2 separate regions of the Homo sapiens genome follow, and region 2 is linked to region 1. The links are contacts of gene promoters, found by promoter capture Hi-C in blood cells and fetal thymus (Javierre and others, 2016). All regions are on one chromosome and are shown on one strand. Each heading gives the region's core, a stretch centred on a gene start or on the middle of the fragment in contact. The rest is flanking DNA. Distances are from core to core; before and after follow the strand shown. Region 1 holds the start of PPP1R3B (protein phosphatase 1 regulatory subunit 3B). Region 2 overlaps LOC157273 (a long non-coding RNA gene).

Evidence for each region. The method cuts DNA at HindIII sites, captures the fragments that hold promoters and counts their contacts. A CHiCAGO score of 5 or more calls a contact.
Region 2: a contact is called between a fragment that was not itself captured here and the fragment with the promoter of PPP1R3B in region 1, in 1 of 17 cell types (M2 macrophages). The highest score is 5.1, in M2 macrophages.

The regions. Positions count from the first base shown.
Region 1 is chr8:9,147,836-9,152,909 of GRCh38, reverse strand. It overlaps PPP1R3B (protein phosphatase 1 regulatory subunit 3B), which reads left to right and starts at 2,252. Exons shown (of 2, transcript NM_024607.4): 1 at 2,252-2,347. PPP1R3B-DT (PPP1R3B divergent transcript) reads right to left here and starts at 1,185. Exons shown (of 5, transcript NR_183348.1): 1 at 994-1,185. RefSeq lists silencers at 1,248-1,497, 1,998-2,267 and enhancers at 1,618-1,857, 1,904-2,852. The HindIII fragment of the contact is 22,346 bases long and covers 1-5,074 here.
Region 2 is chr8:9,332,060-9,337,133 of GRCh38, reverse strand. It overlaps LOC157273 (a long non-coding RNA gene), which reads right to left. Exons shown (of 3, transcript NR_040039.1): 3 at 2,054-4,730. Among named protein-coding and RNA genes, the nearest start is that of PPP1R3B-DT, 180 kb to the right of the region's middle. The HindIII fragment of the contact is 4,936 bases long and covers 257-5,074 here.

The DNA of each region.
Region 1 (5,074 bases), core at 1,003-3,502:
ATTATTGACCATGGTTTCCTAGATCTATGCAAGAAAAATGCTCCCAAACCCTAATGCTACAAAGCTGTATTTACTTGTCCCAACTCTTTCCCGGTGTGGTTCGGATTACCCTTTGCCTGCATATGTTTTGCAATACCTCTTGGCTCTTCATCTTTGCCCACTCCTCCAGCATGCTCACTACACCTGAGAAACTTAGCCAGTACTTGGCTTAAAAATCTTCAACCTACTCATCACCTAACAAGAGAGGGTTTAAAGTTGGCAGAGGGAATATTGCACAGAAACGCTATTTGCCAACCACCTACCAATAGCTGACTTCACAAGTGGTCCCTTATCAGATCTGCCCATCAGAAAAGAAGGAAGAAGATTAATGATCATTCTTCAGACACCAGGACTCCCTCCGGGGAAGCTCTCTATAGAGCTAAAGGCTTGTATTGGATTATTGTCACCGATCACTGTTTTAGGCTTGCATTCCTAGTAAAATTGAAGCTGAGCCTGTATCCCTTACAGTAGAAACTCCCAAATGCCATATTCAACATAATGAGTTTTCAGAAAGCTAAATATATCCAATGGGAAAGACTGGCCATTACATCCTTCCTGCATTTCGTTGTTATTGCTATTAAAGTGTACTTTAAAAAATAAAAATAAAAGGATAGTAATAGAAGACAGCAGGGTTTATTTTCATGTCTTTCTTGGCAGTTTAAAAAGTTGGCAATCCTATATCAATTTCTAATTTTTTTCTAAAACTCTACTGGTCATTAAAATTAGAAAACTGGTAGCCTCATGCCTAAAGTGGCTAGTTCAGATCAAGTTACATGTAAACTGAAGAAAGGAAGAGCCTCTGATTCAAACTCTTTAAGGTCATCATTTTTTTCTTTTTCTAAGACCATTTTCTATAGATCTCAAGGTGCATAATATGCATCGCGGAGGCCCTGTAGATTTAGATAGCGATTATAACCGATTCAAGTCAGGAAATTTCTTCTGAAGTATACCTACCTGTGAAACCCTCCATATCTGGGGCGCTCTGTGCCACGGGTGTCAGACTTTTGCAAAAGCCCTGTCATTCTAACGGGACGCCCTCCTGTAGGAAGTTGCCCCCTGGCGCCCGTCCTCCGGCTTCTGATGAAACGGCGACCCACCACCCCCTTCCCAGACCCTGGCCCGCAGCCGGATCACTCCGGGCGCGCTGCCGATCACGTGGCGAAGCGGTGCTCCCCAGCGCCGTGGCTGCGCGCCCATTGGTCGGCGGCTGGAGTCCCGGGCGCGCCCATTGGCTGCGGGGGGCGTTCACGTGGCAGGGGGCCTGGGATGGACCCCGGGGTCCCGAGAGCTGGCAGGAAAGTTAAAGGGGGCAGCGCGGCCGCGGGGAGCTCGAGTCCCGGGTGACTGCTGGAGGGAGGAGGTGACCGCGCAGCTCTCGTGCACGGACGGACTTCGCCGCCCGCGGGGGGCGCGAACCCGAGCCCGGGCCCAGCTCCTGCCGTCACGGCAGCTGTCCCTGTTCCCCCAGGGCGTATGCTGCCGCGGGCTGGCGCGTCTGCCCTCGGGACTTATGAGCTGAACCCGGTACGTAGCTCCCCAAGTCTCGAGTCCGAGGGAAGGGCTGGGGACAACAAGGCGAGGGCGTGCAGCGGGGACCTCTTTGGGTTCCTGTCACCTACATTTTCACCGTGCGACTTGCACTGGCACACCGGGGCTGGAACACTCTAGGTAGCTGGCCCCAGGGAGCTGTTGCTTCAGCGTGGAGAGGGCGATCCAGGGACCGCAGCTGGGAAGCGCCTCCCGGGCCCACGTGCTCCACCGCGCTGCTGGGCCCGGCTGCGACCGTGACCCGGGAGCTGCGGCTGCGGCGGCTGATCCCTTTACCACCTGTTGTTCTGGCTTCGAAACTAGCACAAGTTCCCAGCCCCGGGTCCCGAGAGGTCTGGAGACTTCTCCAAAGTTGGGTAGTGGGGTTTGGAGCTTAAGGACAAGCCGCTTCGTCTCTCTCCGGGCCTTATTTTCCCTATAAAACGCGAGGAAATACACTTGGTAGGCTCTCAGGCCACCGAGGGCGACGGGACCTAGCACGATCCCCGTCCCGGGCTGGCGGAGGCCAGGCGGCCGCGCGGGGGTGCTGGTGTCGCGCTGCTTGCTCCGGCCGGGGTTGCCCCTTTGCCGGCCCCGCCCGGGTGCGATAACGGGCTCCTCCTCCTCGTCGTCTTCCTCCCACCGCCGACATCTCCGGGAACCCAGCCCAGGCCCTGCCTCCCGGACACACCGACGCTCACGTAGTCGCGCTTGCCACAACCCTGCGGGCTCTCCGATGCGGCGAGCGAGCTGGGGAGGGGGCTTCTCCGCGGCCCAAAAGGTGGGTGCGGCGCGAGGCCAAGGAGGCTTGTAGGGAGGTTGGGGGCGGAGTGCAGCCCTGGTCAAACTGGACGGAGGGGACAGAGTCGGAGAGTAACTTGTGGGATCCTCCAGCCTGGAGAGCACTGGCCTGCTCCTGCGTCTCTTTGGAATCCAGAAAAAGGGGTGTGGAAGGCACAGTAGCTGCAAAAGAGGGAGTGGGGGCCGGTAATGACTTACTGGAAGATTTGGGGCCTGTCAGAGCACTGTTTTCTGAAAAAGAGGAGAAAACAGAGGAAAGACTGGACTTGGGAACTTGGAGACTTGGAAGGTGTTGGAACCTGTGGTCTGAGTGGCGGGGGCCTGCCTGGGAGACCCAGGGTGCAGCAGAAGAGACAATTAGAGCTTTGGTCTGGGAGGAAGAGGAGGAGAGGAGGAAATGTTTCCTTGGGCAGAGTTGTCCAGGAGCCAAAACTAAAGTGAAGACAGCTGGAGGACTTACACAAAAGTACAGTTGAGGTATTTAGGAAAAAAAGTTAGTGGGAAGAGAAGCGGCACCAGGGGTGGGTCGCAACATACAATGTCAGGGCCAGCAGGGACCTTGGAGGGGACCTCAAGCCCAGAGCAGCTGAGTGACTCGCTCAAGTAGCAAAGCAAGGTGCGGGCATTCTTAGCCTAGTACTCTGTTTTCCCTCGTACGTTTTTAGACGGCAGGGGCTGTGTCATTTGAACTTGCCTCTTTCCTAGAATATGCAACTGTATTCACAAATGTCAGTCTCCAAGATGCTTTGGATGATGGGGACAGGATCAAGGGGTACAAGGAGCCTTTAAGGCTGTGAATAGGCCCCCATGGTCTGAGTACAAAGGGGAAAGACATGCACTCTCTTCATGCTGGATCAGTGAAACCTTTTGGAAGGGAACACAGAATTGTTGGAGGGAGGTAGATGGCCATGTCTTTAAAAATGAAAATTATAACCTGGTTGTGAATGTTTACTGAATGCAGTTCGGCAGCTTTCAGTGTTCCTGGTGGGTTGCTTGTGCATCTGATTTTTTTGTTTGTTTGGTTTTGTTTGTTTGTTTTGAGACGGAGTGTCGCTCTGTCGCCCAGGCTGGAGTGCAGTGGCGCCATCTCTGGCTCATTGTAAGCTCCGCCTCCCGGGTTCACGCCATTCTCCTGCCTCGGCCTCCTGAGTAGCTGGGACTACAGGCGCCCGCCACCACGCCCAGCTAATTTTTATTTGTATTTTTAGTAGAGACGGGGTTTCACCGTGTTAGCCAGGATGGTGTCGATCTCCTGACCTCGTGATCTGCCCGCCTCGGCCTCCCAAAGTGCTGGGATTACAGGCGTGAGCCACCACGCCCGGCCTTTTTTTGCCTTTTTTTTTTTTTTTTGAGACGTAGTTTCGCTCTGTCGCCCAGGCTGGACTGCAGTGGCGCCATCTCGGCTCACTGCAAGCTCCGCCTCCCGGGTTCGCGCCATTCTCCTGCCTCGGCCTCCTGAGTAGCTGGGACTACAGGCGCCCGCCGCCACGCCCGGCTAATTTTTTTTTTTTGTATTTTTAGTAGAGACGGGGTTTCACCGTGTTCGCCAGGATGGTCTCGATCTCCTGATCTCGTGATCCGCCCGCCTCGGCCTCCCAAAGTGCTGGGATTACAGGCGTGAGCCACCACGCCCGGCCTTTTTGTCTTTTCTTACCAGAAGAAAGAGAGAGAGAGAATAAGAGAATGGAGGGGATAATGTCGTGGCCCTGATACAAAAAAGATTTCCTCCCTATGAAAGGTACAGCCAGAAAGTCAGTAGTTCAGCTGCCTGAAACCGTGAAGGTCATAGGGTTATTTTCTGTGCAGGTCTATAGTTATCACCATGGCCGTCTAACCTTGGCCAGCTGTCTTGAGAAGGTGTGTTATGAGTGGAACAGATAAAGCATTTATGCAAAACTATCTCCATGATCTGTTAGGGTTTGCCCTGTCTTAGCCATGAACACTGTAATCTACCCTCAAGCATGGCCCAGTCTCTCACCAGAGAAACTGATCCCTGAGCTCTGAGGCATCTCTATGGAAGCAAGTGTTTGAGAATTCATACCTACCTGGGAGCAGCACTCATACACTCATTCCTATCCTGCAACTGGTATCAGATCCTGAGTCCTGCTCTCATGGTTCAAATGTATGTCCATAACTTCTGGTTCTTTTTTTTTCCCCCTTGGCCAACTTTGGTGACTCATATTCCCTGGCCTGGGAAAAGGACAGAGCTGGAGCAGCCAGAGAGTCTGTCAGGAGAGGAGGCTGGGCTGCAGCCTGGTGCTTCCTGTGTTGGAACCGATCATTTTCATGTCATTTGTAAAAGAAGCACCTGTCCAGGTGCCTTCTTTTCAGGAACTTAATATTACCTTGCACATCTCAGTTGCTAGGAGTACTTCTGCATGGCGGCAGCCATCCCTGTCACAGTCCGCTGGGGAGTTCCTGAGCAGTTCAGGAAAGCCTACACCAAACCAGCACTTTGGTGTGCTGATTCTTGGAGAATGACCTGGTAAATAAAATCTGGAAGCTATCTGTGGGACAGGCAAGGTGACTGACAGTCGAGTCATACCCCAGATTGAGGCCACACAGGTTAATGTCCTCACCTGCAGTTATGGTGACACACAAAGTGAAGGGATTCTAGACTGGGGTTGCTTGTGCAATGTCCCTGGGGTAGTAGTCCTGCGGGTAACTCTTGAGCCATCATAACCTTACTTTTGCCTTTCATGGAAGA
Region 2 (5,074 bases), core at 1,475-3,974, 180 kb before region 1:
CAAATTTGGCCTGTCTCTCGTTTTTACCCGGGGCTAGCCTTGACTGAGGCTGAGCAAAGTGTCAGTGATGAAGGACTTGTCAACACTGCCTGGCTTCCTTCCTCACTTGCCATCAAAGGTGGACTTTTGTCCAAAGCTCTTTAATTTGGGAATTAGGTCTTATGTGTAACTGCCAAGTTAAATTGGACCCAAGAGTGAATTTGGATCTGCATTGAAGAGGGAGTGGAAATAAGTAAGTTCTGGGGTGCCCTAAGCTTGGCGCATAATCATAAGAATAAAGACTGATGCTTTGAGCTCTTGCTGCAGGCCAGCTGTGTGCTAAGTGCTTCTTCACTCTGTCAGCTTCTTACTTCACAATCCTGTCAGGTACAGGCTATTCGTGCCCAGAGAAATGAGACGCTAAGAGATGATATGATTTGCCCAAGATCCCACAGCTAGCAATGGAGGCATTGGCATTTGAATTTGTATAGTCTGTACTGCCAGAATGGCCGCTGACCTCTCCAAGGCCATGTGGGAGGTTTTCGATGAGCCCTGAAGCTCTGTGGAGTTTCTGGCATCTGGGGGAGGCCTCTGTTTACATCCAAGCCTTGGGAGAAGCCCTTGGGAGGACCACATGGGGTGACAGCGCTGTGTTGGTGGCAGCCTGTCATGGGTCCTGAAGCCCAGCTTATTTTCTCTCTTTCTTTTCCTCCCTCCCAAATCCTTTCTGCCTTGCCTGCCATCCAGCAAATCAATTCCAATTGATTCCAAATGATAACATTTTATTGGAGTTTTGTTTATTTGAAGATCAATAGTGACAAGAATGTGGCAGTCTCCACCCTGAAAGACCATATTCAAGCACGCTTTTTTATCTTGACTTCAAGTCTCAACCTGGACTCCAGCCTACAGCCTCTGGTAGGCAGACTATCTTGTGCTCACCCTTGTCTTGGCAGCACAATCACATGCCCGTTTTGTGCGTTTGCCTTTTGGGCCCCAGTATACAAGAAATGGGCTTAATTGAAACTGTAAGTGAATTTGTCTGGAACACAGAAAACACTCAACAGCACATCTCCCTCGGACAGACACTGTCAGTCTAATCAGAGGCCTTGAATTATTAAAGCTCTCTAGCCACTTAGAGCTGCAGGTCACCAAGGCACCGAACACACTTGCCTGAGTGGCACTGGATTAGGAAGCAGTGGGCTCACAGCCAGCTGTTACTGTGGACCCCCCAAATTTGTTTGATCACCACTCTTCTTAGTCACGAAATCCCACCCTCCTTTCCCAGGCCTGATCCTGCCGACAGAGCCCTGAACTGGCTCAGGTCCTGGCTTCTGGTCCTACCTCTGGAGTTGACTCTGGGGGTTTTGGCCAATCCTTTTTCTTCTTGGTACCTCCATATTCCCACCTGTATTGTGTGGCTACAAATATTTGCTTAGGATCATTTTAGCAGCTGTGAAGTGTCCTGGGAACTCTGAATGAAAGGCGCTCTATTCCAGCTTATGCACCAAGTGATGACTCTGGCCCTGTCCACACGGCAGGGCTCTGCAGGAGACAGACGACCCATTCATCCTTCATACAGTCCTAATTTTATTCCAGTGCCCCACTGGGGACTCAGGCAGCAGGGCTTGTCAGAGAACTGAGCAGTCTTCACACTTTCAAAGTCCCTTCTATTTGGTAGGGTTGCTTTTTTTCCTTTCCTTTTTTTCTTTTTTTTAACCACTGCATATTAGCAAAGGTAAAATCTACCATGCAAGAAAAGGAACAATCATGAAAGGAGAAAGGCCTTCTCAAGGGAGGGCTGCTTATTAGTCCTTTGGAAGGTCAAGAAGGCCGTTTGCCTGAGGCCAGGATTTATACTGTTAGCATGCTAGGCACATCTGGGGCCCACCCTGCGTACATATCAGGGTGCCATGTTTACATGTATTTTTACATATGTGTCTTGTTTTAGGGTGCCCACGGTGCAAGAGAGCGGAGCTGAGAATCAATAGGATAATATGTCCAGGGCCTGCTAGTGATGAATGTGGGTGTTTTGGCCCATTTGGGCTGCCACAACAAAGTACCCCATAGACTGGGTGACATGCAAACAACAGAAGTTTATTTCTCCCAGTTCTGGAGCCTGGAAGTCCAAGATCAAAGTGTCAGCATGGTCGGGTTCTGTTGAGGGCCCTTTCCAGATTGCACACTGCAGACTTCTTGTATCCTCATGTGGTGGAGTGAGGGCGAGAGAGCTATCTGGGGTTCTGTTGATAAGAGCACCAATCCTATTCCTGAGAACTCCACCCTCATTACCTCCCAATGGCTTTACCTCCTAATCCTAACACATAGTAGATTAGGGTTTCAACATATGAATTTTGGAAGGACACTAACATTCAGTCCATTGCACTGAGTATTTTTGCTTCTTCAAAATCACTCCACTGTTGCAACCTATAATTGTGCATCTGTCTTGAGGCTACAATAGCATGTCTTAGAGCTGGAATCTCCAGCTTCCCGGAATCCTGGGCCCCTCTACCGACCTCTCTAACCCTTCCCCTGTAGGAGCACTTACTTACAGAACATTGAGTCTCTGCTCACTCTCTCCTGAATCCATTTCTGCTCCTTCTTCTTTGAACTCCTCACTAACCCCAGGGCCCAGGCATCCCATCCAGATATCATCCCCAGTTGCAGATATCTGAGAAACTTTGCAGTCACTCTCTCCTTCAAGGCTCAAGTCTTCACTCCCAATAGGTCTTCAATCACCATGGTTTCCAATCTCACTCTTATTCTGAGTATGCAGAGCATGGCTTCCCATTGCTTTCAAAGGGAAGGGCAAATGTCTTATGCAAATTTACTGTATTAGTTTGTTCTCATGCTGCTAAGAAAGACATATCTGAGACTGGGTAATTTATAAGGGAAAAGAGGTTTAATGGACTCACAGTTCTACATGGGTGGGAGGCCTCACAATCATGGCAGAAGGAGAAGGAGAAGCAAAGGTATGTCTTACATGGTGGCAGGCAAGAGAGAAGTGCCGAGCAAAAGGGGGGAAAACCCCTTATAAAACTTATAAAACCATCAGATCTCGTGAAAACTCGCTCACTGTCATGAGAACAGCAGCATGGGGTAATCACCCCCATGATTCAATTATCTCCCACTGGGTCCCTCCCACAACAGTGGGAATTATGGGAACTACAATTCAAGATGAGATTTGGGTGGGGACACAGCCAAACCATATCACTTACCAAGGCCTTACATGATCTAGTCTGTGTCTTCCTGTTTGACTTAATTTTTCCTCTTATTCACCTCTTTGCTCATCAAATCCAGCCACATGATTCTTTTTCCCATCCTTCAGACTCATCCAGGTTCATTCCCACTTTAGAGTTTTGTACTTGTGCTGGTCTCTCTACCCAGTATACTCTGCCCACCAACATTGGCATGCTGGCTTCTTCTTGTCATTCAGATCTCTGTTTAAACATCATATTCCCAGAGCTAATTCCTTGAGCATTTTGTCTAAAATAGCCCTTCCCTCTCAGTCACTTACATCTTATAAAGCTAATTGTCTTCAGACATTTAAGATCATTGACAATGACTGATGCTATATGTGCTATCTCTTTTCCTCCAATAGTAGAATATGGATTCTATGAGTAGAAACCTTGTCTGACATTTTCCCTGCTATATCCCTAACACCATGGAATGTATATGGCACTTGACGGTTGCTCTATAAATACTTGTTGGATGACTCAATGAGTGAACAAACTAGAAATATTTGTTATGGACTATAAGAGGTTGACAGTGAACTTCACCTTGCAAACCTCATAGTCTTTAGTATTGGCACTAGAAGTCTCATCTTGATCCCATGCTCAACTGGTAGAAGGTCATAGTGTTGGGTCTGGGCTGGGTTGCAGTGTCCCACTCACCTAGGCTTTGTGGAGCTTAGCTGTGGCTAGTAGAACAAGGTACCAAGGGTCAGCCAAGAAGCAATCTCCAAACTTATCAGAAAGTCCAACCTGGCCACTACTTCTTGTAGGATAGGCAAAGTGGGAAGACCTTGGTATGAAGCATAGGATATAAACTGGGGAAGCCAAACCAGAGTTCAAGTCTGGAGGAATTCCCAGAGCTATGGGAACGTGACTGTAGAAGGCCCCTATAGTTTTGGGTGAGCTGGTGAAGGAGCAGTTAGACTTACTTGGTTTAGGCACACAATGATCTTCAGTCCTTCTCTTGAAGGCATGAGCTGGCTGCAGTTGCACTTTGCCCTACTGGAAAGGATCTGATGCCAGAGACTGACAATGGGTCAAGGGCTTGGTGGAGAGTATTCACTGCTGATTAAGTCTTTCTTGATACTGAATAGAGAGTAGATTTAGTGGAGGGGAAGGGAAGACCACAGGAAGACCACCAAAGAGATTATTCTACAGTCCAGTAAAGAGAGGACAAGAGCCAGTGATGGCAGAAGGGAGGAAGAGAAAGAGATTCATGCAAGAGAATTACTCATGCAAAATGTGCAAAATTTAAATTCAATCAGATTAGACCAATGGAAAAAGAAAAAGAAGGATGCCATGAAGACTAGGAGGATCTGAGCTTGCTCAGCATTGTAGAGGGTGTTACGGGCATTGATTAAGTTAAAGACAGCAAGGGAGAGGCGTGTGAGGGCAGAGAAATGTGCTTTACCTCTGGGCAGGCTGATGTGACAAGCTCATTGAGCCTCCAGAGAGATTTTTTCCAAAAGTAGCTGGAAATATAGGCCTACAGCACAAAAGCCCTAGGAGCCAGGTGAACGCCTGGAAGAATAGAAGAAATTATATTATTTAAAGTAAAATGGGCCAGGCGTGGTGGCTTATGCCTGTAATCCCAGCACTTTGGGAAGCCAAGGTGGGCGGATCACTTGAGATCAGGAGTTCAAGACCAGCCTGGACAACATGGGGAGACCCGTATCTCTACTAAAAATACAAAAATTAGCCGGGTGTGGCGTGCCTGTAATCCCAGCTACTCCAGAGGCCAAGGCAGCAGAATCACTTGAACTAGGGAGGTGGCGGTTGCAGTGAGCCAAGATGGTACCACTGCACTCCAGTGTGAGCAACAGAGCGAGACTCTGTCTCTAAACAAAACAAAATAAAACAAGCAA